4 separate regions of the Homo sapiens genome follow, and all the other regions are linked to region 1. The links are contacts of gene promoters, found by promoter capture Hi-C in blood cells and fetal thymus (Javierre and others, 2016). All regions are on one chromosome and are shown on one strand. Each heading gives the region's core, a stretch centred on a gene start or on the middle of the fragment in contact. The rest is flanking DNA. Distances are from core to core; before and after follow the strand shown.

Region 1 (7,163 bases), core at 2,542-5,041:
AGACTTGGTCTCAAAAAAATAAAAAAGAAAAAGAAAGTTTAGTGTAATTCTCACTTAAGCGGTCAGCTTCAATCAAAAAGGAATTAAGATCTTCTCATTTTATTTATTGTTGGGAAAAAGGAGACAGTACTAATAACCACCTATAATCAACATTGTAAGGAATAACAATTAAATATTTACTGTATTAATTGTCATCAAATTAAAAACACAGTGCCTCTTGTACTAGTTTACAAAACAAAAACAAAAAAGCATCATCACTCTAAAGTTGTCACCACTTAGTAATCTGAGATATTTTAATTGCAGCTGCAATGTTTGTGTTTGTTGCCTGTGTATATGACTCATATAGAAAGGTTTTCCCAAGACTGCTGGATTTTTGAGAATGCAGAAGCCATAACTGGGGCATACTGTGTGGGAACTGTCATGACAGTGAATGAATAAAAGGGGAAAAGAACCCATGACAGAATTTTTTTTCAAGTTTTTATAAAAAGCAAGTCACTCACTAAAGGCAGACTCTGCAGAATAATAGGAAAGGTTGGGGAAAAGCCATCCCTGCTCCAAGAAGCCTTCCTTGACTCTCTTGGTTGGATTCAGTGCACTTCTTAACACTACATAGCACTTAACGGGTTTCCTTGTCTGGCTCCCCAGCCATACTATATGCAACTTCAGACCAAAAGCTGTCTTAAATTAGTACCTACTTCCCAAAACACCCGCCATATGGAGGGCCCTCAGTAGGTGGTTCATAAATAGGAATAATCAATTTTACATTTACCTTTTATTTTACATTTTACAAAGCACTTTCACGAACACTATCTTTTCTGATCCACATTAACAATCGTGGGAAGGGCTTTATTTAATCAAATGGCTTCTGGTTTTATAAAGAGTTAATTCAGGGCCGGGCGCAGTGGCTCAAGCCTGTAATCCCAGCACTTTGGGAGGCCAAGGCAGGTGGATCGCCTGCGGTCAGGAGTTCAAGACCAGCCTGGCCAACATAGTGAAACCTTGTCTCTACTAAAAATACAAAAAATTAGCTGGGCATGATGGCAGGCACCTGCAATCCCAGTTACTCAGGAAGCTGAGGCAGGAGAATCGCCTGAACCGGAGAGGTGGAGGTTGCAGTGAGCCGAGATCATTGCACTCCAGCCTGGGAAACAAGAGCAAAACTATGTCTCAAAAAACAAACAAAAAGAGTTAATTCATTGACTAAAACAATTCTGAAATCACAAAGATAATTACGTATTTGTTCATCTTTGAGATAGCTTCTCCCTGGGACCTCAGTGTTCTCATAAAACTCAGACGTTTTGTTAGCATTTTCTTTGCTTGCTCTCCATAATAGGTAGGACTCACCCTGCTCTGAATCTTACTCAGGGTTTAAACCACATAAAGCTGTTATTAAAGACCCCTCTAGAAATCAGACAAGAAGAAGCATCCTAAGCTATTTTTTTTCTGATCCTGTTCTTTTTGTAACTAAGGTAAGGAATTGCAAAGGTCAAAATCTGGAGAGCAAATGATGTCATGGATGTCATGAAGTTGCATCAATACCTGATGATGATTTAGCATAACAGTGCAACATATTATGCCAAGAAGCATAATGATGAGCCACCAGGATGTTTTACTGCATTAATTTCATGACTCTTTATTAGCAAATTGATATGCAAAGTAGCTCTCCAATTTTCTACCACAGAGAAGCTGCTGGTTCAGATTTACATCTTTAGCAAAGACACTAAGAAAATCGACAAATTTCTATGGAAAAGTCTTTGATTTAAAAATAGAAAAGGAGGCTGGGCACGGTGGCTCAAGCCTGGGGTGGGGCAGGGTATCGCTTGAGACCAGGAGTTTGAGATCAGCCTGGGCAACATCGGTGAAACCCCGTCTCTACTAAAATTACAAAAAAAAAAAAAAAAAAAAAAAAATTAGCGGGCGTGGTGGCGCACACCTGTAATCCCAGCTACTCAGGAAGCTGAGGCAGGAGAATCGCTTAAACCCAGGGGATGGAGATTGCAGAGAGCCGAGACTGTGCTACTGCACTCCAGCCTGGATGACAGAGTGAGAAACTGCAAAAAAAAAAAAAAAAAGAAAGAAAGAAAGAAAGAAAGAAAGAAAGAAAGAAAATGGTCAAATAATAACCTAAACAGTTGTCATTTTAACAATGAAAAGCTTTTTAAGATACGCAACATGCCTATGGATCAATGTAGATTGAATCATCTATTTATACTGGCTTGTCAAAAGCAAACAGTTACTGGGTATAAAATGACAACATACAATAGAAAAGACACCCAATCAGATTACACACGTGAATACACTCAAAGTTAGCAATTTAACACAGCATCACTAATGGCCATAAGATATACAGACTTAATTCTAAATATTCAATTCTAAATGATGGTACTTCCCCCAAATTTTCCTTGCCTCTTTAAATCCATGATGTCATCATTCTTAAGCAGAAGTAAAGCCAATTTGTTACAAAAGATATTTTGGTGTGTCCAAGCAAAAGCAATCGCCTCAACAATTCTGCATAGCACAAGTTCAGTGAAGCCATCATTCCTCAAGAAAGAGACCACAAGGCTTCAAACCGACTTCCCTACATGACAGAAACACAATCGAAGTCTCCCAATTAGCATTTAAACAGCAATAAAAGTTGTTCTCAAAAAGGAACAACATAGTTTCAACGTCGGGGCCAGCAACTGCCAGCAAGTAAAACTGGTAATGTGTCAGAATCTTCATCTAGATCGATCAGAATCCCACCACAGAAAAATCCAGACTCTGGCAATTAAGAAATGAGGCTTTTATTTTCCTAACAGAAATCGGGAGATTTAACAGACAAAGCAATTGGTTATTCTGAATCTTAACAAACCGAAGGTTTCAAACGAACTCAGCGCTGAAGTTACTCTGCAGCGACCATCAAGATCTCACAATCGTTTTCTCTTCGCTTACAAATTCGTTCCCACCCTCCACCGTTCCCTTTGCACACACAATTCTCGCCAAGAGAAGCCTTCCACAGTCACAGCATGGATTGCTGTCTCAAGCAAGGAGATCCGCAGTTCCCATTTCTCTAAGGGAACACTCAACAAGCTAGGGGATAGGAAAGGCCTTTTGTGTTTTATTTAACGTAAACCAATTCCAAAATTATCCCTTTGCAGCTGCAGGTTCAGAGATGCTAGCCCCCAGCCGCAGCCCCAATTTTGATGGGCACCCGACCCCCGACTCCTCTCTCGCAAAGGAGTGAAATGTTCGGAGGAGCGATGAAAGATTACCTGACACCCTAAAGCCATCCTTGCCCGGGCCACACACCCCTTCACTGCCCGGGTGAGGGGACGAGAACCACCCTGCTGAGGAGAGGGGGTGGGTTCGCTCCCAACCCAAGGGCTGGCTGGAAAGGAGCTGTCCTCCTCCTCGCCTCACTCGAGGACGGCGATAGCAAGTCACCCTGCCCAACCAGGACCGACCCCCGCGTGGGATACGGGGCCTGCGTCAGACCCCGGGCGCCCGCTGCCCCTTGCCAGTCCCGGGCATAAAGGGCAGAAGGCGCCGGCTCCCCTCTGCGGCCCGGGGAGGAGGAGAGGCCTCACCTGGCCCAGCCCGCTCCACGCTCTCGGGTTCGCTCCGCTGGCGACGGTAATGAGGGAGCCAGGGACAGGGCCAGAGCAGAGGCGCTCTGCCTCAGGCCGCGACAGCCGTGCTCGGGGCTCCTCACAGCTGGCGGGACCCCGAGCCGCCCGGAGCCGCCATCTTCCTCCACTCAAACGCCGCCGCCGCCGCAGCTGCTGCTGCTCAGGCCGGGAGAAGACAGCGCAGAGCGCGCATGCGCCGGGGCGGGCGCGGCGGACGCGCGCGCACTCACGTCAGCGCGGCGGGATGGCGAGGGGCGGCCAGGGGGCGGCGCAGTGTTGAGAAAGGCCGTGGTCACAGGCCGAGGTTCTGTGGAGGGTGGAATGCGCTCGGGGGAGCTAGGCCTCCGCACCCGCCTTCGCCGCGTCTCTAGCGTCGACCTGATAGCCGCACCCACCCTCCGCTGCACTGTCTGGGGCAACTGGGTGGTTTTCCCGGTGGTTTGAGACTAACATTTAGCCAGGAATTAACTCACTTCTACCCCGAGGGCCCGATGAGCAGAGAGGGCTGTGGCGGATGTGAGTGCTCTTGGATATCGCCAAGGGGAGGGAAACTGTGCTTGAGGTGTGCAGGAGAAGTCTTCCCTTAACCGTAGCCTCGTAGCAACCACTGTGAGTTCTTACTAGCTCCACTTTTCAGATGAGGAAACTGAGGCACAGAAAACGATCACTTATTTGCCCGGAGTCACACACCTATCAGTGGAGGTGGGGCGGCGCGGGAAAGAGGATTTAAACTCAGGCTTGTCTGGTTCCCAAGCTCCTTTACTTCCTACTAGCTAGGTTATAGGATCCAGCAAAGTCCCCCTTCTCAAGGGAGCAACCTGGTGTGTAGGTGAGAACCTTCATGAGCCCAGCCCTACAGCATGTGGTCTAAGGAAATGCCAGATACAGAGTCAAAGGCTTCAGTCTAAACTCTGTAAGCCAAAAAAACAAAACAAAACAAAACAAAAAACTAAGCCCCCACCCCCCCCCCAACACCAAACCATCTGAACGGACTTCCTCCTAGGCCAGGGCAGTCTAAAATGTAACCAACCTGAGAGACTGGTTCAGGCCATGACGGGAAGCAGGACATGAGACATGCCTCATTACATCCTTCAGCATTGACATCAACACAACAGACCTTAAGACTGGTAAGAAACATTTACAATCTGTTCTCTCTGGAGCCCACCTGCCACTTGGAGGCTTCACGTGCGTGATAAAACTTTGGTGTCCACAATCCCTTATCATAACCCAGACATTCATTTCTATTGATAATAACTTTTTTTTTTTTGAGACAGGGTCTAACTCTGTTGCCCAGGCTGGAGTCCAGTGATGAGTTCTTGGTTCGCTGCAACCTCTGTCTTTCAGGCTCAAGCTATCCTCCTACCTTAGCCTCCTGAGTAACTGGGACTACAGGCGGGCACCACCATGCCTGGCTAATTTTTCCATTTTTTTTGTAGACACAGGGTTTCGCCATGTTGTCCACTCTCATCTCAAACTCCTGAGCTCAAGTAATCCACTTGCCTCGGCCTCCCAAAATGCTTGGATTACAGGCGTGTGCCACCGCACCAGGCCTATTGATAATAACTATTTCAACTCATTGCCAATCAGAAAATGTTTAAATCTGCCTATAATGTGGAAGCCCCCACTTCAAGTTTCCGGTCTTTCTGCACCGAACCAATGTAGTTTTTATTTATTTATTTACTTATTTTTATTTATTTGTTTATTTTTTTGAGACTGAGTCTTGCTCTGTCGCCCAGACTAGAGTGCAGTGGCACCATCTCCGCTCACTGCAACTTCCGCCTCCTGGGTTCAACCGATTCTCCTGCCTCAGCCTCCCGAGTAGCTGGGATTACAGGCGCCCGCCACCGTGCCCAGCTAATTTTTGTATTTTCAGTAGAAAATACAAAATTCAGTAGAAAATACGGGGTTTCACCATCTTGGACAGGCTGGTCTCAAACTCCTGAACTCGTGATCCACTCACCTCGGCCTTCCAAAGTTCTGGGATTACAGGTGTGAGCCACGGCGCCTGGCCTTTTTATGTATTTATTGAGACAGGGTCTCACTCTTCGCCCAGGCTGGAGTGCAGTGGTGTGATCTCCACTCACTGCAACCTCTGCCTCCCAGGTCCAAACGATTCTCGTGCCTCAACCTCCTGAGTAGCTGGGATTACAGACATGTGCCACCACACCCAGCTAATTTTTGTATTTTTAGTAAAGACGGGGTTTCACCATGTTGGCCAGGCTGGTCTCGAACTCTTGCCTCAGTTGATCCACCCGCCTCGGCCTCCCAAAGTGCTGGGATTACAGGCATACGCCCCTGCACCTGGCCCTGTATTAATATATCTTAAATGTATTTGATTGATGTCTCATGTCTCTCTAAAATGTATAAAACCAAGCTGCTTCCCAACCACCTTGGGCACATGTTCTCAGGATCTCCCAAGGGCTGTGTCATGGGCCATGGTCACTCATATTTGGCTTAGAATAAATCTCTTCAAATATTTTACAAAGTTTCCTCCTAGGAAATCTCATGGGGCATAGGGCTGGGCCAGAAGCCAAGTTCCCCTCAAGTTGGAGGGCAAGGCCTCTTTGAGCAGACTTGGGTCACCCTTACCCATAGAGAGCTGTATGAGCCAGAGGCGGTGGTGCATACTTGTCAGCCCAGCACTTTGGGAAGCCAAGAGGGGAGGATCGCTTGAGCTCAGGAATGCAAAACCATCCTGGGCACCATAGCAAGACCCCATCCCTACAAAAAGTTGAAAAATTAGCTGGACATGGTGGCATGTGTACCTGTAGTTCTAGCTACTTGGGAGACAGAGGCAGAGGGTTGCTTGAGCTCAGGAGTTGGAGGTTGCAGTGAGCTATCATCACCTCACTGCACGCCAGCCTGGGTGATAGAGGGAACCCATCTCAAATAAATAAATAGAAAGCAGTATATTCTTACGTTCTTCAAACCTGAATAATGCAAAGTCCCCTAGGGATACACTCAGGGAATCCCAGTGGGAGAAACATTGATTTAAGAAAATCATGTTTTGGCCAGGCGCGGCGGCTCACGCCTATAATCCCAGCACTTTGGGAGGACGAGGCAGGCGGATCACCTGAGGTCGGGAGTTCGAGACCAGCCTGACCAACATTGAGAAACCCTATCACTACTAAAAAAAAAAATACAAAATTAACCAGGCGTGGTGGCACATGCCTGTAATCCCAGCTACTCGGGAGGCTAAGGCAGGAGAATTGCTTGAACCCGGGAGGTGGAGGTTGTGGTGAGCCGAGATCGCATCATTGCACTCCAGCCTGGGCAACAAGAGCGATACTCCCTCTCAAAAAAAAAAAAAGAAAGAAAAGAAAAGATAAAGAAAATCAAGTCTTTCAACTAGGAAATTTTACTGCAAAAGAGAAATTGGGCAATTATAACTGGTAAAGGAAATATTTTTAAATCTGGTTTTTAAATCTAGTTTTTAAATCATGTCATTAAAAACCTCAAGCTTAAAAATTACTAGAACTGAGCCGGGTACGGTGGCTCACACCTGTAATCTTAGCACTTTGGGAGGCCGAGGCAGGCAGATTGTCTGAGCTCAGG
Region 2 (7,163 bases), core at 2,044-4,543, 770 kb before region 1:
TGAAACCCCATCTCTACTAAAAATACAAAAATTAGCCGGGCGTAGTGGCATGTGCCTGTAATCTCAGCTACTCAGGAGGCTGAGGCAGGAGAATCGCTTGAACCTGGGAGGCGGAGGTTGCAGTGAGCCGAGATCGCACCACTGCACTCCAGCCTGGGCGACAGAGTGAGACTCCGTCTCAAACAAACAAACAAAAATCCTATCCTGATTCCTAAAGATTCGCTTCAAGTCCCAGGAAAATGGGTGTTAAGTGTCTCCACCCCCAGGATCTTCACTGGTGGAATCTCCTTACCTGACTAGGAGTGAGACCAGCAATTTCAGGTGTCCCTGTCCCTGGCGCATAGGCAGGATCCAGAGCGTCAATATCAAAGCTGATATAAATGGGTTTGCCTCCCATCTGCTGCCTGACTTCCCCCATCAGAGGAACCAGCGACTTCATCCAGCAGTCTTCAGCCAGGACTACCCGGAAGCCCTGCAGAGACAGGGACTGAGGTTTCTGTCTGGCAGCATTTACAGGGCATTTCCTGTTTGCCAGCCCCATGCTCAGCTCTGTGTGCACATGACACTTGACCCTCCATCTCCATGAAGAGGGAACTATCCTATTTTACAGGTGAGGAAGGGAGGGACAATGAGTGGTAAGGAAGCAGGGTCAAAGCTGACTGATGGAGTTGGAATCAGAGAGAAGCTTTGCTAAAGCAAGAGTGGGAAACAGCAGCTCACGCTAGCACCTTTTGAATTGCTCTGTCCAGAAGACTGGCCTTGGCACGCTCTAAAAGCAAGGGATTTGGGTCTGTTCCATTGGGGTCTTGTCATACACGTCTATCTGAGAGCCATTCTGCCTAGAGGGTACGAGGACCAGAACTAAGAAGGTGGCAACTCATCTTGGGTCCGGACTTCCTCCCCTCTTTTTTTTTTCTTTTGAGATGGAGTCTCACTTTGTCACCTAGGCTAGAGTGCAGTGGCGCGATCTCAGCTCACTGCAACCTCCACCTCCCACGTTCAAGCAATTCTCCTGCCTCAGTCTCCCGAGTAGCTGGGATTACAGGTGCGCACCGCCACACCTGGCTAATTTTTGTATTTTTAGGAGAGACGGGGTTTCACCATGTTGGCCAGGCTGGTCTCGAACTCCTGACCTCAGGTGATCCACCCACCTTAGCCTCCCAAAGTGCTGGGATTACAGGTGTGAGCCACTGTGCCCGGCCTCCTCCCCTCTTCTAAGCCAGCACCGTCCGAGGGGTTGGTCGATTTCTGCTTGTCTCCCCCGCCCAGCGATAGACTTCCCATGGCCCATAAACCAACTTCCTCACTCCTATGCTCCTTATGCCCCTGATGATGCAAACTCAGCCTTGTATCCCTGCTTCAGACTTGATTAGTAAAGCCCCCGCTCAATCCCTGGCTGCCACTGGTGAGGCAACGGAGAGGAAGACATTTTGAGGGGCAAGGGTGGGGGGCATTCGGTCTGTCACCTGGCTCCGGTTGTATCTGTAGGGATCCAAGGTCGTGGAAGAGCCCCGGATGCCAATCTGCACCACACGCTTACAGTCCAGGAGACCCTCATCCACACACCGGCGGAAGGGCGCCCCGTGGTAGAGCTTCTCTCCTAGGGCCTTGTCGGTCGTGTCCGTGTGCGCATCCACGTGCAGCAGCCCCACTGGGCCATGCCTGATGACAACAGGGCAGCTCAGAGGCCAACCCTCCCTGTGGGGCCCTAGCACAGCCACCCTTCGGGCCACCAAAACTTGGTGACAATTCACAGCCAAAAAGGGGAGACCTGGCATCCGTTTTCTGCCTTGCAACTGGTTCCTGTCTTCTTGAGATCACTTTGCATCTCAGAGGAACAATAAACTCACAGAAGTCAGGCAGGAAATAGACATGTTTTGGCTGCCACCCACACCTATCACCCAGAATTTGCTTCACTTAGAGACAGGATGAGAATCAAGGGTGGTGGCACAGGGGAGCTTGGCTGAAGGCTTAACTAAACCAAGACACACCCTTTCTCCAACCGAGGAAGAGGAAGCTTTAATCCAGCTCTCTCCATAACCTCCATCAACCCCTGCCAGCCACCCAAAATAAACATCTGATCCAAATCCGTGAGGAATAAATGCAGCTTTGAGCAAAGACCTGCACCCTCCCACCTCCAACCAGAATGCCACCCACATGTGCTTCCACAGACACATTCTGGAGCTGCCACCCTCCACCCGGGTCCTTCTGTCTCTTTCTCAAACTAAATTAGCCAAAGTCGGCCAATCCTGGGTAGACTTCCACTACTGGCAAATCAGTCTTTTGATTGAGAAAGGTGCCCTTTCAGGAGGAAACAAGGGCCTCTCAGCAAGGTCCACCATTGTGCCTGTCAGTGTTTGTTTTTGGCCATTGAAGCAAAACAGAAACTGAAGTTAACTGAGGTTGTGTATTTCACTAGAGGCTCATCTTCCAAAAACAGAAGCAAGTTGAAAATGCTGAGCACACATACCAGGAGAGATCTAGGGCAAGGGAGGGTGGCCAGAACTGTTAATAATAAATTGTCTTGGCTTCTAGCTGCTGACTGACAGAGACACCTGGAGCTCAACCTTAATTTTGATCCCCAGAAGCAGCTCATAACCTGAGCCAGCAGCAGTCACCTAATGCCACCAAACAGCAAATAACTCATTCCCTAGCTTCTGGCTTTTGAAATCTTGCTGGGCCCAAGCCATTTGAGACTTACTTTTTTGCCATCGCTTGCAATATGGGATATGTGATTGTGTGATCTCCACCTGCAAAGAGGAAGAAGAAAACATCTGGAAAGTGAATTGGAGGATTACATAGAATAATCTTTTTTTTTTTTTTTTTTTTTTGAGATGTAGTTTTGCTCTGTTGTCCAGGCTGGAGTTCAATGGCACAATCTCGGCTCACTGCAACCTCTGCCTCCCAGGTTCAAGCGATTCTCCTGCCTCAGCCTCCCGAGTAGCTGGGATTACAGGTGTGTACCACCATACCTGGCTAATTTTGTATTTTTAGTAGAGACGGAGTTTCACCATGTTGGTCAGACTGGTCTCAAACTCCTGACCTCAAGTGATCCACTCGCCTTGGCCTCCCAAAGTGCTAGGATTACAGGCATGAGCCACCATGCCCAGCTGAATAATCTTAACTCAATTTTCACCCTTTCAGCCTGGGGGGAGTTATAACCACAGCTACAGTAAGATCTTATAGAATGGCAGGATGCTGAATGAGCCTGGGAGGTCAAGGCTGCAGTAAGCTGTGATCGTGCCACTGCACTCCAACCTGGGCGACAGAGTAAGACACTATCTCAAAAAAATGAATAGCTTGCTGGGCACGGTGGCTCATGCCTGTAATCCCAGCAGTTTGGGAGGCCAAGGCGGGCAGGTCACCTGATGTTGGGAGTTCAAGACCAGCCTGACCAACATGGAGAAACCCCGTCTCTACTGAAAATACAAAATTAGCCGGGCATGGTAGCGCATGCCTGTAATCCCGGCTACTCTGGAGGCTGAGGCAGGAGAATCACTTGAACCCAGGAAGCGGAGGTTGCGGTGAGCCAAGATCGCGCCACTGCACTCCAGCCTAGGCAACAAGGGTGAAACTCCATCTCAAAAAATAAAATAAAATAAATAAATAAATAGCTTGAGCCTAGAAGTTTGAGACCAGCCTGGGCAACACAGCAAGACCACGTCTCTAAAAAATAAAAATAAAAATAGACCAGGCGCAGTGGCTCACACCTTGGGAGGCCAAGACAAGCAGATCGCCTGAGCCCAGGAATTCAAGGTCCACCTGGGTAATACATTAAGACCCCGTCTTTGCAAAAAATACAAAAATTAGCTGGGCATGGTGACAAACGCCTGTAGACCCAGCTACTCGGGAGGCTGGAGTGGAAGGATCACCTGAGCCCAGGGAGGGCAAGGTTGCAGCGAGCCATGTCGGCACCACTGCACTCCAGCCTGGGTGACAGAGTGAGACCGTGTCTCAAAAATAAATAAATAAAAGAGGAAATTAGACAAGTTAAGAGCTACTCTAGGAATTGCCTTTTCACAGTATTCTAGGAAAATGCCTAGAATAGCTCTGTTCAATAGAACCTTCTATGATGATGACAATGTTCTATCTGCACTGGCCCATATGGTAGCCACTATCCACATGTGACACACATGTGACATACATGTAGCTAATATGACTTAAGAAACTGAATATTTTATTTTAATTAATTTGAATTTAGGCCGGGCGTGGTGGCTCACGCCTGTAATCCCAGCATTTTGGGAAGCTGAGGCGGCGGATCACCTGAGGTCAGGAGTTCGAGACCAGCCTTGCCAACATGTTGAAACCCTATTTCTACTAAAAATGCAACAAATTAGCTGGGCGTGGTGGCACGCGCCTGTAATCCCAGCTATTCAGGAGGCTGAGGCAGGAGAATCACTTGGACCCAGGAGGCGGAGGTTGCCGTGAGCCAAGCGGGACAACAAGAGCAAAACTCTGTCTCAAAAAAAAAAAGAATTTAAGTAGCCACATGTGGCTAGTGGCTACCTTACTGGACAGCACAGACCTAGGAAAGTATTCTTTCTGATAATAATAACAGTTAACATTTATTGAAGCTTCAGATATGCCATGCATAGGTCGGGCGCAATGGCTCACGCCTGTAATCCCAACACTTTGGAAGGCCGAGGTGGGCAGATCACCTGAGGTCAGGAGTTCGAGACCAGCCTGACCAATATGATGAAACCCCGTCTCTACTAAAAATATAAAAATTAGCCGGGCATGCTGGCGGGCGCCTATAATCCCAGCTATTCAGGAGGCTGAGACAGAATTGCTTGAACCCGGGAGGCGGAGGTTGCAGTGAGCCGAGATCGTGCCATTGCACTCCAGCCTGGGCAACAAGAGTGAAATTCTGTCTCAAAAAAAAAGAAAAAAAAAAAAGATATGCCATGCTTGATGCTGGGCATTTCATGTGCACTTTCATTATATGCCCCTCACATCATGCAGTGAGTAGGTGTTACTGTGATCATTCCCATCTTACAGGTGAGGGTGTGAAGCATCAAGCACGGTATACAGCAACATTGCTAGGGAGAAGTGCAGCTGAGACTTCAAACCATGCCATCGGGAAACCACACTCCTCCCACTATGCCATGCAGGCTAGGCTCTCTAACTTGGCAAAAATGAATTTGGATATTTAGGAAAAGATCCCTGTCATTTTAAGTATTTGTGAACAAGAGAAAAAGTGAGAGTGGGTCAGGGGTGAGGATAAGGGGAAAGCTGCCCTATAGGTTGATGTAGACCCTGAGCAGGACAAAAACACCCTCTTTGCAGTTCTCCTCGCAAATAAAGTCATTAGAAACATCATCTTGGCCAGGCGCGGTGGCTCATGCCTGTAACCCCAGCACTTTGGGAGGCCAAGGTGGGCGGATCACTTGAGGTCAGGAGTTCAAGACCAGCCTGGCCAACATGGCAAAACCCCGACTCTACCAAAAATACAAAAATTAGCCAGGCATGGTGGTGGGCGCCTGTAATCCCAGCTACTTGGGAGGCTGAGGCAGGAGAATTGCTTGAACCCAGGAAGTGGAGGTTGCAATGTGCCGAGATTGCACCACTGCACTCCAGTCTGGGTAACAGAGTGAGACTGTCTCACACACACACATACACACACACGTGAAATATTCTCTCCCCAGGGATTAAAATAAATGAATTACAATGCTCTCTTTCCTACTGTCTGCACATTTGCAGTGGCTTGCAGGGGAGAAGTAGCTGTACTCAAGCCCCTGAGTACAGGATAAGTAAACCCTGAGTGCAGGGAACTACTCTGGCTCTTGCAGACTGACATTACCCAAGGTCAGAGGAATACAGCCAGCTGCTACAATTTTCTCATAGGCCTCTTGAATTCGCCGGCAGCTGTCCTGAAGGTTGTAAAGATTGACATTCACATCGCCTAGGTCTGCAACCATGAGGGACTGGAAGGGGAGGGCCCCCGTGCTAGGATTGACTGTCCCAAGCATCACTGATTCTTCCCGGATGCGGCGAGGTCCGAATCTGCAGAAGGAAGAATCATCCTGTCAGCCATCATCTGCAGAGATTTCAGGCTTTGCTTAGGCCAGGGCTTCTCAGCCTCAGCAATTTGGGGCCAGATGATTCCGTGTCGCGGCATTGCATAATGGAATGCTTAGCAGCATCCCGGCCTGTACTCACTAGGTGCCAGTAGCACCCTTCCTCCAAGGTGTAACAACCCAAAACGCCTCCAGATACTGCCAAATGTCCCCGGAGTGCAAAACCGCCCCACTTGAGAATCACCGATCTAGGCTATGTATCGAAGAGACTAAATAAGTGTACTAAATGGCATTAGTGAATTTCATGATCTACCTGAGTCTCAGTTTCCTAATTTGTAAAATATTTACCTTGCACTGTAGTAAAAATTAAATGAGGTAATCTATGCAAAGCACCTTGCACTTAGGAGACATTTAATAAGTGCTGGCTTTCATAATTCAGATCAGTACGGTCAGATATAGTGTTGCTGAGCTGAATCAGAAATTGCTGACGTTCAATAACTAGGAAGATGAATTTTGCTTCCTCCGACTTGATCCTAGGAAAATTGCCTTCATTTGAGCATTTCTTGAGTCAGGTGACATCTTCAGATTTGGGGAAGGGGCAGCCAGTTTCTGCTCTCAAATGCAATGTCACCTGCCACTGTAAGCTGGGGAGAGGAGAGGGGAGGAATCCACAGCAGCCATCCCAGCAAGGCCCCAGGATGGGGACACAGAGAAGGTTCAGGCTCCAGAATCCCTTCTTTTTTCTTTTTTTGAGACGGAGTCTCACTCTGTTGCCCAGGCTGGAGCGCAGTGGCGCAATCTCAGCTCACTGCAACCTCCGTCTCCCGGGTTCAAGCGATTCTCCTGCCTCAGCCTCCCGAGTAGCTGGGATTACAGGCCCGCGCCACCATGCCCGGCTTTTTTTTTCTTTTTTTTGTACCTTTGTAGAGACAGAGTTTCACCATGTTGGTCAGGATGGTCTCGAACTCCTGACCTCGTGATCCGCCCGCCTCAGCCTCCCAAAGTGCTGGGATTACAGGCATGAGCCACCGGGCCGGCCAAAATCCCTTCTTGACCAATGATGACACTAAGATGTGGGAGGCCACGCCCATGTTGAGCCCTGGGGTTTGCTTATTGAGGGTCCAGGTAAATCAACCATCTCAAACC
Region 3 (7,163 bases), core at 1,200-3,699, 740 kb before region 1:
CTGGGATTATAGGCATGTGCCACTGTGCCTATCCTGTATGTCTAACTTTTTGAGGAACTGTCAAACTTTTTTCCAAAGTGGCTGCACCATTTTACATTCCCGCCAGCAGTCTATTAGGGGTTCCTATTTCTCCACATCCTCATCACCACTTGTTATCATCTGCCTTTTTTTTTTTTTTTTTTTTTTGAGTATCTTTTTGGACAGAGTCTCCCTCTGTCCCCCAGGCTGGAGTGCAGTGGCACATTCTCGGCACGCTGCAACCTCCACCTCCAGGGTTCAAGCAATTATCCTGCCTCAGCCTCCAGAATAGCTGGAGTTATAGGCGCATGTCACTATAGCCGGCTAATTTTTATTTTTTTATTTTCATTTTTTTGAGATGGAGTCTCACTCTGTCACCCAGGCTGGAGTGCAATGGCACGATCTCGGCTCACTGCAACATCCACCTCTTGGGTTCAAGCAATTCTCCTGCCTCAGCCTCCCAAGTAGCTGGGATTACAGGCACACACCATCATGCCCAGCTAATTTTTATATTTTTAGTAGAGACGGGGTTTCACCATGTTAGTCAGGCTGGTCTCGAACTCCTGACCTCGGGATTCGCCCTCCTCTGCTTCCCAAAGTGCTGGGATTACAGACATGAGCCACCGCATCCGGCCTAATTTTTATATTTTTAGTAGAGATGGGGTTTCACCGTGTTGGCCAGACTGCTCTCGAACTCCTGGCTTCAAGTGATTTGCCTGCCTTGGCCTCCCAAAGTGCTGGGATTACAGGTATGAGCCACCACGCCCAACTCTGTCTTTTTTATTATAGCCATCCTAGTGAGCATAAAGTGGTATCTCATTTTGGTTTTACTTTGTATTTTTATTTTATTATGCTTATAGTTTCTGTAGGTCAGAAATTCAAAGGCAATACAGTGGAGACGGCTCCATAATGTCTGAAGCCTCATCTGGAAAGACTCATAAGTTGGAGATGATTCAACATCTGGGGGTTGAAGTCATCTGAAAGTGTCTTCACTTCTGTGCTTGGTGAGTTTTCCCGCTAATCAGCTTTCCCCTCAGCTGAGCAGCTTTCTGGAACAACCACACGTATTTTCTCCATGCGGTCTCACCGTGTGGTGTAGTTTGGGCTTCCTCACAGCATGGCTGCTGGGTTCCAAGAGCAAGCGTTCCAAGAGAATCACGGAGAAGCTGTACTGACTTTTTTTCAGCCATTGATTTATTTTTATTTGCAGTTTGTATTCAATACAAATCAATTTCATAACAAGTTACTATGAATCAAAGCATACACACACAAATATACAATCCAAAATAGATGTACAGCATTTCGGCATGGAGCAAAAGGGAGTGTTCATTCACACACACAGTGGAGTGGGTTCAGATCTGTTCCATCTGCTGTTCCCGTGTAGGTTTCTAAAGATGGAAAAAAAAAGACTACTGTGGCCATATTAGATGCTGGAACACATAAGCATCAGTGTGTGACCTTGTGAACAAAGGACTTCAGGGAGTGTCTATTTTTAAAAAGGTTTCTGTGTGTCAAGACAGTTGTAAACATTTTTATTACAGAATCAAGCTTACTTTGCGGTTTAGGACCAGGTTCTAACTATCTAAAAATATTGACATAACAAAATGTGTTTCAAACAGGGCATGATGGCTCATGTCTGTAATCCCAGCACGTTAGGAGATGAGGTAAGAGGATTGCTTGAGCCTAGGAGTTCAAGAACAGCTTGGGAACATAGAAAGACTCCTATTTCTACAAAAAGATAAAAATTCGCTGGGAATGGTGGCACACGCATGTAGTGCTAGCTACTTGGGAGGCTGAGGCAGGAGGATTGCTTTAGTCCACGAGGTTGAGGCCGCAGTGAACTCTAGCCTGGGTAACAGGGTGAGACCATGTCTCTTAAAAAAAAAGGCCCCAGCTGGGTGCGGTGGCTCACGCCTGTAATCCCAGCACTTTGGGAGGCTGAGGTGGGCAGATCACGAGGTCAGGAGTTCAAGACCATCCTGGCCAACATGGTGAAATGCCGTCTCTACAAAAAATACAAAAATTAGCGAGGTGTGGTGTTGTGCACCTGTAATCCTAGCTACTCGGGAGGCTGAGGCAGGAGAATCACTTGAACCTGGGAGGCGGAGGTTGCAGTGAGCCAAGATCGCTCCATTGCACTCCAGCCTGGGCGACAGAGTAAGACTCTGTCTCAAAAAAAAAAAAGCCCCAAAATGTGTTTTAAATGCAGCTATTCTGATCCATAGTTGTTGTTTGCAAAAAGCATTTACAGAAAAAGAGTATAGCCTGGGCACGGTGGCTCAGGCCTGTAATCCCAGCACTTTGGGAGGCTGAGGCGGGCAGATCACCTGAGGTCAGGAGTTTAAGACCAGCCTGACCAACATGGAGAAACTCCATCTCTACTAAAAATACAAAATTAGCCGAGCGTGGTGGTGCGTGCCTGTAATCCCAGCTACTCAGGAGGCTGAGGCAGGAGAATCGCTTGAACCTGGGAGGCGGAGGTTGCGGTGAGCCAAGATCATGCCATTGCACTCCAGCCTGGGCAACAAGAGTGAAACTCCATCTCAAAAAAAAAAAAAAGAAAGAAAGAAAAAGAAAAGAGTATAAAAGTTTTTGTGACTTTAATGCAAGTTAACTTTCAGTCTTTACTTTCCAAATACTTGATATACAGTTTTTGGCTCCTTTACATTTTTGCCCTTTTAATTTCAAGGTTTATAATTTTACCTTCAAAACAGATCTTTTTTTGTTTTTTGAGATGGAGTCTCACTGTGTCTCCCAGGCTGGACAGCAGTAGCATGATCTTGGCTCACTGCAACCTCTGGCTCTAAGGTTCAAGCAATTCTCCTATCTCAGCCTCTGAGTAGCTGGGATTACAGGCACACCACCATGCCCAGCTAATTTTTGTATTTTTAGTAGAGACAGGGTTTAATCTTGTTGGTCAGGCTGGTCTCGAACTCCTGACCTCAAGTGATCCACCTGCCTCAGCCTCCCAAAGTGCTGGGATTACAGGGGTGAGCCACCGCACCCAGCCCCTTAATGAATCTGGTGTCCTTGTTGAACGAAAATAGGTGAAATGAAATGCCTACCATTTGACTCTCTAAGGATAAACAAGAGTTATTGATGATGCTTGGACTTGGGGGTAGATTGCAGTCTATCATTGCCCTGGCACATGTCAATTACTAAATAAAAGGTCAAATGCAATGTCAAATCCAAATCCTCAGAGGAAAAAGAATTCAGTTACCAAAAGAACAGTGATAGCCTAACAATGTAAAACTTAATATATTGGCATTAAATTAGTACTGCTGAAATAATACATTGAGGATTTATAGAATGATGGAAGCTTTTTTTTTTTTTTTTGAGACGGAGTCTCACTCTGTCTTCCAGGCTGGAGTGCAGTGGTGCGGTCTCAGCTCACTGCAGCCTCCACCCTCCGAGTTCACACGATTCTCCTGCCTCAGCCTCCCGAGTAGCTGTAATTACAGACACTTGCCACCGTGCCCAGCTAATTTTTTGTATTTTTAGTAGAGATGGGGTTTCACCATCTTGGCCAGGCTGGTCTTGAACTCCTGACCTTGTGATCCACCCGCCTTGGTCTCCCAAAGTGCTGGGATTACAGGTGTGAGCCACTGCACCCAGCCGATGGAAGCTTTTTTAAACTTTAAGACAGGATCTTGCTCTGTCACCCAGGCTGGAGTGCCATGATAATGGCTTACTGCAGCCTTGACCTCCAGGGCTGAAGTGATCATCCTACCTCAGTCTCTTGGGTAGCTGTGACCACAAGTGTGTGACACCATGCCCACCTCTTTTTTTAAATTTGTGGGCCAGACACGGTGGCTCACACCTGTAATCCCAGCACTTTGGGAGGACGAGAGAGCTGGATCGCCTGAGGTCAGGAGTTTGAGACCAGCCTGGCCAACATGGTGAAACCCCATCTCTACTAAAAATACAAATATTAGCTGGGCATGGTGGCATGCTCCTGTAGTCCCAGCTACTCAGGAGGCTAAAGAAGGAGAATGGCTTGAACCCGGGAGGTGGAGATTGCAGTGAGCTGGGATCGTGCCATGGCACTCCAGCCTGGGGGACAAGAGTGAAACGCTGCCTCAAAAAAAAAAAAGGAGATTATGGCCAGGTGCAGTGGCTCATGCCCGTAATCCCAGCACTTTGGGGGGCCCAGTGGGTAGATCACCTGAGGTCAGGAGTTTGCGACCCGCCTGGCCTACATGGTGAAACCCTGTCTCCACTAAAAATACAAAAATTAGCCAGGTATGGTGGTGGGTGCCTGTAATCCCAGCTACTCAGGAGGCTGAGGCACAAGAATCACTTGAACCTGCGAGGCAGAGGTTGCAGTGAGCTGAGATCGCACCACTGCACTCCAGCCTGGATGGCAGAGCGAGACTGTGTCTCAGAAAGGAAAAACAAAAAATAAAAATTAGCGGGGCATGGTGGTGCAGGCCTGTAATCCCAGCAACTTGGGAGGCTCAGGCAGGAGAATCACGAGCCAGGGAAGTGGAGGTTGCAGTGAGCTGAGCTCGCACCACTGCACTCCAGCCTGGGCAACAGAACAAGACTCCATCTCAATAAATAAATAAATTAATTAAATTAAAATAAATTTTTTTTTGTAGAGATGGGGTCTCACCCTGTTGCCCAGGGTGATTTCAAACTCCTGGGCTCAATCGATCCTCCTGCTGTGGCCTCCCAAAGTGCTAGGATTACAGGTATGAGCCACCCCCACCCCTGCCAATGGAAATCTTTTATTTTACTGGTTTTACTGCCGTATAGACTTAATGAACCAAATGAAAACTGAATCTCCACTCCATATTACATCTTTATTTCTAAACAAGATAAAATCTATTATTTATTATTATTTTTTTTTTATTACCCAAGTTTTGTCTCAGGATCTACTATTCTTATTTTCAAGGTAGTTTTAACTGTCCACATTTCTTAAGCCACATTCAAGAAATAATGTCTTCAATTTTGGATGTTGCCTCTCTTCATCTTGTACATGACATTTAAGCAGATTTAATATTGGCATCCATCATCTAGTCAAACCCTTCACGTGTTCTTCAAAGCAATTAAATTTGGGGTTCTCAACCTTTTCTTTCTTTCTTTCCTTTTTTTTTTTTTTTGAGATGGAGTCTCACTCTGTCGCCCAGGCTGGAGTGCAATGGCGCGATCTCGGCTCACTGCACCCTCTGCCTCCCATGTTCAAGCCATTCTCCTGCCTCAGCCTCCTGAGTAGCTGGGATTACAGGCACACACCACCACGTCTGGCTAATTTTTATATTTTTAGTAGAGACGGGGTTTCACCATGTTGGTCAGGCTGGTCTTGAACTCCTGACCTTGTGATCCACCTGCCACCTGCCTCGGCCTCCCAAAGTGCTGGGATTACAGATGTGAGCTACCGCGCCTGGCCTTTTTTTTTTTTTTTTTTTTTTTTGAGACAGAGTTTTGCTCTTGTTGCCCAGGCTGGAGTGCAATGGCGCAATCTCGGCTCACTGCAACCTCTGCCTCCCAGGTTCAACCAATTCTCCTGCCTCAGCCTCCCAAGTAGCTGGGATTACAGGCATCCACCACCATATCTGGGTAATTTTTCTGTACTTTTAGTAGAGACGGGGTTTCACCATGTTGGCCAGGCTGGTCTCAAACTCCTGACCTCAGGTGATCCACCTGCCTCGACCTCTCAATGTGTTGGGATTACAGGCATGAGCCACCACACCTGGCCAGGTTCTCAACCTTTTCTGTATCAGTAAAAGAAGGTGTGAAATTAATAGATTTGATGAAGACCCGCTTTTTTTCTTGCCACATTGGACTCCTAGATGCCATTTGGAATGGGTTTAGAAGACACGGAAGTATAGATGTTTCTTAACAGTAGAAATATAGAAGAGAAAGCAAGACCATGAGGAGACTGGCAGTTGACTGCAGGGCACAGCCAACTGCCTTGGTGGTGGCATTAGCTGGGTTTGGGGCAGACAAGGTACCCTGGGAGGAGTTACTTGAAAACGTTACAATAGTTTGATTTGAATAAATCTGCATAAGTAGGAGCAGTGCCAGAAGCAGCAGCCCCAGCCTGAGCCTGTCCACCATTGCTTTGTCCCCTCCATTGGTGTCTGGCATATATTGCTGGATGCTGGGTGAGAACTGCTGGCTCCAGGTGGACACAGGCGAGACCTAGCCTTAAAAATCACACAAAGTGGCTGGGTGCGATGGCTCACATCTGTAATCCCAGTACTTCGTGAGGCCAAGGTGGGAGGATCACTTGAGGCCAGGATTTGGAGATTAGCCTGGTCAACATAGCAAGGACTCATCCCTATTTTTTTTAACTAAAAATAATGTAAAATCATAATAAAAAGGAAATCAAGCCTGGGCAACATAGCAAGATCTCATCTCTACTAAAAAGAAATTAGCTGCGTGTGGTGGTGCACACCTGTAGTTCCAGCTGCTGGGGAGGTTGAGCTGGAGGGATCACTTGAGCCCTGGAGGTTGAGGCTGCAGTGAGCCATGATCGTGCCACTGCACTCCAGCCTGGGTGACAGAGCCAGACCCTGTCTTGATAAAAAAAAAAAAAAAAAAGGAAATCACATAATGTCACTTATGCCAGAGTTAGTCTGCCGAGCCATGATTCAAAGGGAGGGACATTCACCCCACTTCTTAATGGGAGGGTTATCCAATCATGTTGTAGGAAGAGCATAGACGATGGGAGGCACTGTCATGGTCATCTTTGGAGAACAAAATCTGCCAGACCTGGGAACCTGAGCACCACTAGACCAAATATAACAATTAATCAATGATTCAAGCCTCAACTGATTCCTTGATACCACCACTGGGCAATCCTAGAACATTTCTCAGCTAAACTTGCTTCAATTTGCAATGGTTATTTCAAACATTCACTGTAGAAGGCACTGTGTACATCTTTCCTAATACCCATTCCCAGCCCCCCTTTTCCCTATTTATGTCCTTTAGGCAAAGCTAAATACTTGCGTTCCTAGCCTCTCTTGCATCTATGTGACACAATTCTGTCCAGTGAGATGTAAGCAAAAATGTGCACAGGGACTTCTGGGCAAGCTTTTTCCTTGAATAGGAAAATGATGCGTGCAGTGGAGGCAGCCAGCCATATATTGCAACCCTCAGGAAAAGGTCAAGACAATTACAAAAGTATTGGCCCTGAT
Region 4 (7,163 bases), core at 898-3,397, 530 kb before region 1:
GGTGTGATCTTAGCTCACTGCAACATCTGCCTCCCAATGCCCCAAAATTGAATCCAATCCCTCAATCACTACCAGTATAAATCAATGTAAATGACAGAAGTATAGTGTGTGCTAGGACAAAGGAAAAACAGGTGAAGACCTTATTCTACATAAGCTGGAGAGCAACATTTCATAAATAATTAGAAAATGTACACTTAACCATATACTACTGCTAGGCTTCATCCAAAGTGACAAATATCAAAAAATAAAAAATTGTGGGCTGGGCGCAGTGGCTCACGCCAGTAATTCCAGCACTTTAGGAGGCCAAGGCGGGCAGATCACCTGAGGTCAGGAGTTCCAGACCAGCCTGGCCAACATGGTGAAACCCCACCTCTACCAAAAATACAAAAATTAGCTGGGTGTGGTGGCACATGCTTATAGTCCAAGCTACTTGGGAGGCTGAGGCAGGAGAATGGCTTGAACCCTAGAGGTTGAGGCTGCAGTGAGCCAAGATCACACCATCACCCTCCGGCCTGGGCGACAGAGTGACAAGACTCCATCTCAAAAAAAAAAAAAAAAAAAAAATTGTTGGCTGGGCACGGTGGCTCACATCTGTAATCCCTACACTTTGGGAGGCTGAGGCAGGGGGATCACCTGAGGTCAGGAGTTCGAGACCAGCCTGACCAACATGGAGAAACCCCATCTCTACTAAAAATACAAAATTAGCCCAGCGTGATGGCGCATGCCTGTAATCCCAGCTATTCAGGAAGCTGAGGCAGGAGAATTGCTTGAATCCTGGAGGTGGAGGTTTCAGTTAGCAGAGATCGTGCCATTGCACTCCTGCCTGGTCAACAAGAGTGAAACTCCATCTCAAAAAAAAAAAAAAAAAAAAAAGCTTCAATAGCTATTAGGCATAAATGTTGCAGGATAAAATATACATGATACTTTATATCTGTATTTAATCACATGTTCCAATAAAGAATGATAAAGTAATACATTGAAAATACAAATTGGCCAAGCACAGTGACTCACGCCTGTAATCCTAGCACTTTGGGAGGCCCAGGTGAGTGGATCATCTGATCTCAGAAGTTGGAGACCAGCCTGGGCAACATGGAGAAGCCCCATCTCTATCAAAAATACAAAATATTAGCCGGGTGTAGTGGCATCACCTGTAGTCCCAGCTACTCAGGAGGCTGAGCCGGATGATTAAAAAAAGAAAATACACATTTTGACTTGTTTTTTTTTTTTTTTTTTTTTTTGAGTGGGAGTTTCACTTTTGTTTTCCAAGCTGGAGTGCAATGGTGTGGTCTCTGTTCATTGCAACCTCTGCCTCCTGGGTTCAAGCAATTCTCCTGCCTTAGCCTCCGGAGCAGCTGGGATTACAGGGGCGTGCCACCATACCCAGGAAATTTTTTGTGTTTTTAGTAGAGATGGGGTTTCACTATGTTGGCCAGGCTGGCCCTGAACTCCTGACCTCAGGTTATCCACCTGCCTTGGCCTCCCAAAGTGCTGGGATTACAGGGGTAAGCCACCGAGCCTGGACTTGACTTTTGATTATATTTATCAGTACATAGAATTCTGAAGGTGAGCTGGGTTGGGTGGCTCATGCCTCTAATTCCAGCACTTTGGAAGCCCGAGGCAGGCAGATCACTGGAGGTCAGAAGCTCGAGACCAGCCTGGCCAACATGGCAAAACCCCTTCTCTACTAAAAAACACAAAAATGAGGCTGGACGCGGTGGCTCACGCCTATAATCCCAGCACTTTGGAGGCTGAGGTGGGCGGATCACGAGGTCAGGAGATAGAGACCATCTTGGCCGACATGGTGAAACCCTGTCTCTACTAAAAATACAAAAATTACTTGGGCGCAGTGGCACGTGCTGGTAATCCCAGCTACTCAGAAGACTGAGGCAGGAGAATCGCTTGAACCTGGGAGGTGGAGGTGGCAGTGGGCCGAGATCACGCCACTGCACTCCAGCCTGGTGACAGAGCTAGACTGTGTCTCAAAAAAAAAAAAAAAAAATTAGCCGCCTGTGGTGGCGCATGCCTGTAATCCCAGCTACTTGGGAGGCTGAGGCAGAAGATTGCTTGAACCTGGGAGGCTGCAGCTATAATAAGCCGAGATTGCACCACTGCACTCCAGCCTGGGTGACAGAGGAAGACTCCGTCTCAAAAAAAAAAAATTTATGAAATTCTGAAGGTGGAGCTTGACCCCAAAGTGATATATCTGTTTTCCTTTTTTTCTTTTTTTTTTGAGACGGAGTCTCACTCTGTCACCCAGGCTGGAGTGCAGTGGCACGATTTCAGCTCACTGCAACCTCCACCTCCTGGGTTCAAGTGATTCTCCTGCCTTAGCCCCACGAGTAGCTGGGATTACAGGCATGAGCTACCACGCCCAGCTAATTTTGTATTTTTAGTAGAGACGGGGTTTCTCCATGTTGGTCAGGCTAGTCTTGAATTCCAGACCTCAGGTGATCTGCCTGCCTCAGCCTCCCAAAGTGCTAGGATTACAGGCATGAGCCACCGCGACCAACCTTAATATTTGTATTTTATTAGAGATGGGGTTTCACCGGGTTGGCCAAGCTGGTCTTGAACTCCTGACCTCAGGCAATCCACCCATCTCGGCCTCCCAAAGTGCTGGGATTACAGGTGTGAGCCACCGTGCCCAACCCACGTTTTCAAATTAAGCACGTAGACAATCTTTTTATTTCACTGTTGTTCACTGGGATGTGGTAGAACTAGAGCAGGGTCCAATATGGGGGAAGAAAGTCTTTTAAAAAGAAAATTATGGCTGGGTGCGGTGGCTCACGCCTGTAATCCCAGCACTTTGGAAGGCCAAGGCAGGTGGGTCATGAGGTCAGGAATTCGAGACCAGCCTGGACAACATGGTGAAACCCCGTCTCTACTAAAAATACAACAATTAAGCGGGTGTGGTGGCACATGCCTGTAATCCCAGCTACTCAGGAGGCTGAGGCAGGGGAACCACTTGAACCTGGGAGGCAGAGGTTGCAGTGAGCAGAGATCAGGCCACTGCACTCCAGCCTGGGTGACAGAGCGTGACTCTGTCTCAAAAAAAAAAAAAAAAAGTAAAGAAAAATACAGCCGGGCACAGTGGCTCACGCCTGTAATCCTAGTACTTTGGGAGACAGAGGCAGCAGGATCTTTTGAGCTGGAGTTCTCCCAGCCAAGAAATAATTTATTATTCATGTTATCATGGAGCAGATATGAGGGTAGAAGGAGACCACATCCTGGGAGTGTAACAATTCCTCCAGAAGCCCTAAGGTTTTGAGTTCCCTCTTGCTGCACTGACCCAGGAACTTCCTAAAACAGAAGGTACTTTCCAACATCACAGTCTCTGGCATCTTCCCCTCTAAGCCTCACTGTCAGACTTTTCCAAAGGTCATACTTACTGTTTTTTTTTTTTTTTTCTTCAATCCATTCCAATCAAGCTTTTGCCTCCTACTCCACCCAGACAGCTTGTGTCAAGGTCACCCATGACTTCCACTTATTCATACAACACTCAATTTTCATGCCTCAGCTTAATCTCTCAGCAGCATTTCATAGTTGACCATTCCCTTCACTTTTTTTTTTTTTTTTTTTTGAGACCGAGTCTTACTCTGTCATCCAGGCTGGAGTGAAGTGGTGCGATCTCGGCTCACTGCAACCTCCGCCTCCCGGGTTCAAGCAATTCTCCTGCTTCAGCCTGTCGAGCCAGCATTCCTGTGCGTCACCATTCCCGGCTAATTTTTGTATTTTTACTAGAGACGGGGTTTCACTATGTTAGTCAGGCTGGTCTCGAACTCTTGACCTCGTGATCTGCCCGCCTCGGCCTCCCAAAGTGCTGGGATTACAGGCGTTAGCCACCGAGCCCTGCCCAAGCCGAGCTAATTTTTTTTTTTTTTTTTTTGAGATGGAGTTTCACTCTTGTTGCACAGGCTGGAGTGCAATGGCACAATCTCAGCTCACCGCAACCTCTGCCTTCCAGGTTCAAGCGATTCTCCTGCCTCAGCCTCCCAAGTAGCTGGGATTACAGGCATGCGCCACCACAACCAGCTAATTTTGTATTTTCAGTAGAGAGGGGTTTCTCCATGTTGGTCAGGCTGGTCTCGAACTCCCAGCCTCAGGTGATCTGCCCGCCTGAGCCTCCAAAAGTGCCGGGATTACAGGCATGAGCCATCACACCTGGCCAATTTTTGTGTTTTTTTAGTAGAGTTAGGGTTTCATCACATTGGCCAGCTGGTCTCGAACTCCTGACCTCAAGTGATATGCCTGCCTCGGCTTCCCACAGTGCTGGGATTACAGGTGTGAGCCACCCTGCCAGGCCACCTGCTCCACTTTCTTGACTTCCTGGACACCACCCTTTCCTGGTTATCCTCCGACCTAACTGGTTGTTCCTTCTCATCCTGCTTTGCAAACCTTCTTCTCAGACCTTTTAACAGTGGAGTGCTTCAGGGCTTCCTTTATCCTATTTCCTTCTATATTTATGTTAGTGATCTCATCCGGTTTGAGGCTTTTAAATGCTAGCTATATATAGGATAACTCTCTCACACACAAATATACATAATATACAAAAAGGGCATATATAAAAATATACATCTCCAGAACTTCCTCCTAAATCAAGACCCATATATCCAATAGCCCACCAGCGTCTCCCTTTGATATCTAATAAACACCTCAAATTGAACATGCCCAAACTGAACTTCTGCTCTTCCCCTGCAGAACTGCTCTATCCAGTCCTCCTTCATTACAACTCTTTTAGTTGCCCAGGTCAAAAAATGTTTTGGCTCATCCTTGCCTCCTCTTTTTATCAATCCCAGGTTCAACCTACCAGAAAGTCTGCTTGGATTTACTGTTAAAATATATCCAGGGCCCGGTGGCTCACACCTGTAATCCCAGCACTTTGGGAGGTCAGGAATTTGAGACCTGCTTGACCAACACGGTGAAACCCCATCTCTACTAAAAAATACAAAAAATTAGCCAGGCGTGGCGGCACATGCCTGTAATCACAGCTACTTGGGAGGCTGAGACAGGAGAATCGCTTGAACCCGGGAGGTGGAGGTTGCAGTGAGCCATGATGTCGCCCACACTGGGCGACAAGAGTGACACGCCATCTCAAAAAAAAAAAAATTAGCCAGGCAGTAGTAGCACACACCTGTTGTCCCAGCTACTCAGGAGGCTGAGGCACCTGGAAGGCGGAGGTTGCAGTGAGCCGAGATTGCACTACTGCACTCCAGTCTCGGCGACAGAGTGAGACCCTGTTTCAAACAAACAAACAAACAAAAAAAACGGCCAGGCGCGGTGGCTCATGCCTGTAATCCCTGTACTTTGGGAGGCTGAGACAGGCAGATCACGTGAGGTCAGGAGTTCGAGACCAGCCTGGCCAATATGGTGAAACCCCGTCTCTACTAAAAATACAAAAATTAGCTAGGCGTGGTGGTAGATGCCTGTAATCCCAGCTACTTGGGAGTCTGGGGCAGAATAGCTTGAACCTGGGAGGCGGAGGTTGCAGTGAGCCGAGATCGCACCACTGCACTCCAGCCTGGGCGACAGAGTGTGACTCCGTCTCAAACAAAAAAACAAAACAAAACAAACAAAAAAACACACTCACTCTAGTCCACGCCCGCAGCCATGCCGACCAAGGGCCCGCTGCAGTCGGTGCAGGTCTTCGGACGCAAGAAGACAGCCACAGCTGTGGCGCACTGCAAACGCGGCAATGGTCTCATCAAGGTGAACGGGTGGCCCCTGGAGATGATTGAGCTGCGCATGCTACAATACAAGCTGCTGGAGCCAGTTCTGCTTCTCGGCAAGGAGCGGTTTGCTGGTGTGGACATCTGTGTCCGTATGAAGGGTGGTGGTCACGTGGCCCAGATTTATGCTATCCATCAGTCCATCTCCAAAGCCCTGGTGGCCTACTACCAGAAATATGTGGATGAGGCTTCCAAGAAGGAGATCAAAGACATCCTCATCCAGTATGACCAGACCCTGCTGGTAGCTGATCCTCGTTGCCGGGAGTCCAAAAAGTTTGGAGGCCCTGGTGCCCATGCTCGCTACCAGAAATCCTACCGATAAGCCCATCATGACTATCAAAATTCACCTGTATAATAAACAGTTTTTGAGGGATTTTAAAGTTAAAAAACAAAACAAAACAAAAAACACAAAAATTAGCCAGGTGTGGTGGCATGTGCCTGTAATCCTAGTTACCCAGGAGGCTGAAGCAGGAGAATCGCTGGAACCCAGGAGGCAGAGGCTGCAGTGAGCCGAGATCATGCCACTGCACTCCAGCCTGGGTGACAGAGCAAGACTCCATCTGAAAAAAAAAAATCTCTCTCTCTCTCTATATGTATCTCCAGGATATATTTTGGTCATTAAAGCCACCCTCCCCTTCACTTGGATTACTGATATGGCCGATTCATTTGGCTCCTGCTTCTACCCTGGGCCTCTTTTTTTTTTTTTTTTTTTTTTGAGACGGACTTTCGCTCTGTTGCCCAGGCTGGAGTGCAATGGCGCAATCTCGGCTCATCGCAAGCTCTGCCTCCAGGGTTCACCCATTCTCCCACCTCAGCCTCCGGAGTAGCTGGGACTACAGGCCCCCTCCACCACGCCCGGCTAATTTTGTTTTTGTATTTTTAGTAGAGACGGGGTTTCACCCTGTTAGCCAGGAGGGTCTCGATCTCCTGACCTCGTGATCCGCCCACCTCGGCCTCTCAAAGTGTTGGTATTACAGGGCCCAGGGCCTCTTATTTTCAATACTTTGGGCAATCCTTCTAAAACCTGTCATATCATTAAAAGCCATAAAAACCTATTACAGTTTACCAGGTTCTACAGATCTGCCCCACACACTCCTCTGACTCTTTGACATTCATCCTATACCCCCGTCTTGACCATTCTATTTTTTTTGAGACAGGGTCTCACTGTCACCCAGGCTGGAGTGCAGTGGCTCAATCAAGGCTCACTGCAGCCTCGACTCACTTCCCAGGCTCAGGCAATTCTCCCACCCAAGTAGTTGGGACCACAGGTGCACGCCACCATGCCTGGATAACTTTTATATTTTTTGTAGAGACGAGGTTTCACCATGTTCCCAGGTGGGAGTGCAGTGGTGCAATCATAGCTCACTGTAACCTCAAACTCCCAGGCACAAGCAATCCTCCTGCCTCAGCATCCCAAGTAGCTGGGACTAAAGGCGCACA

The links. The method cuts DNA at HindIII sites, captures the fragments that hold promoters and counts their contacts. A CHiCAGO score of 5 or more calls a contact.
Region 2: a contact is called between a fragment that was not itself captured here and the fragment with the promoter of FBXO42 in region 1, in 1 of 17 cell types (activated CD4 T cells). The highest score is 5.2, in activated CD4 T cells.
Region 3: a fragment that was not itself captured here is called in contact with the fragment with the promoter of FBXO42 in region 1 in 1 of 17 cell types (activated CD4 T cells); the score reaches 5.3 in activated CD4 T cells.
Region 4: a contact is called between a fragment that was not itself captured here and the fragment with the promoter of FBXO42 in region 1, in 1 of 17 cell types (fetal thymus). The highest score is 5.3, in fetal thymus.

What each region holds. Positions count from the first base shown.
Region 1 is chr1:16,348,689-16,355,851 of GRCh38, forward strand. FBXO42 (F-box protein 42) reads right to left here and starts at 3,792. Exons shown (of 10, transcript NM_018994.3): 1 at 3,567-3,792. RefSeq lists an enhancer at 3,057-3,831. The HindIII fragment of the contact is 4,914 bases long and covers 2,153-7,066 here.
Region 2 is chr1:15,577,393-15,584,555 of GRCh38, forward strand. It overlaps AGMAT (agmatinase (putative)), which reads right to left. Exons shown (of 7, transcript NM_024758.5): 2 at 5,801-6,003; 3 at 2,702-2,750; 4 at 1,467-1,662; 5 at 293-472. Among named protein-coding and RNA genes, the nearest start is that of AGMAT, 4.1 kb to the right of the region's middle. RefSeq lists an enhancer at 7,152-7,163. The HindIII fragment of the contact is 2,557 bases long and covers 2,016-4,572 here.
Region 3 is chr1:15,608,784-15,615,946 of GRCh38, forward strand. It overlaps the pseudogene CD24P1. Among named protein-coding and RNA genes, the nearest start is that of DDI2, 5.1 kb to the right of the region's middle. The HindIII fragment of the contact is 1,771 bases long and covers 1,565-3,335 here.
Region 4 is chr1:15,822,628-15,829,790 of GRCh38, forward strand. It overlaps the pseudogene RPS16P1. Among named protein-coding and RNA genes, the nearest start is that of UQCRHL, 19 kb to the left of the region's middle. The HindIII fragment of the contact is 2,551 bases long and covers 873-3,423 here.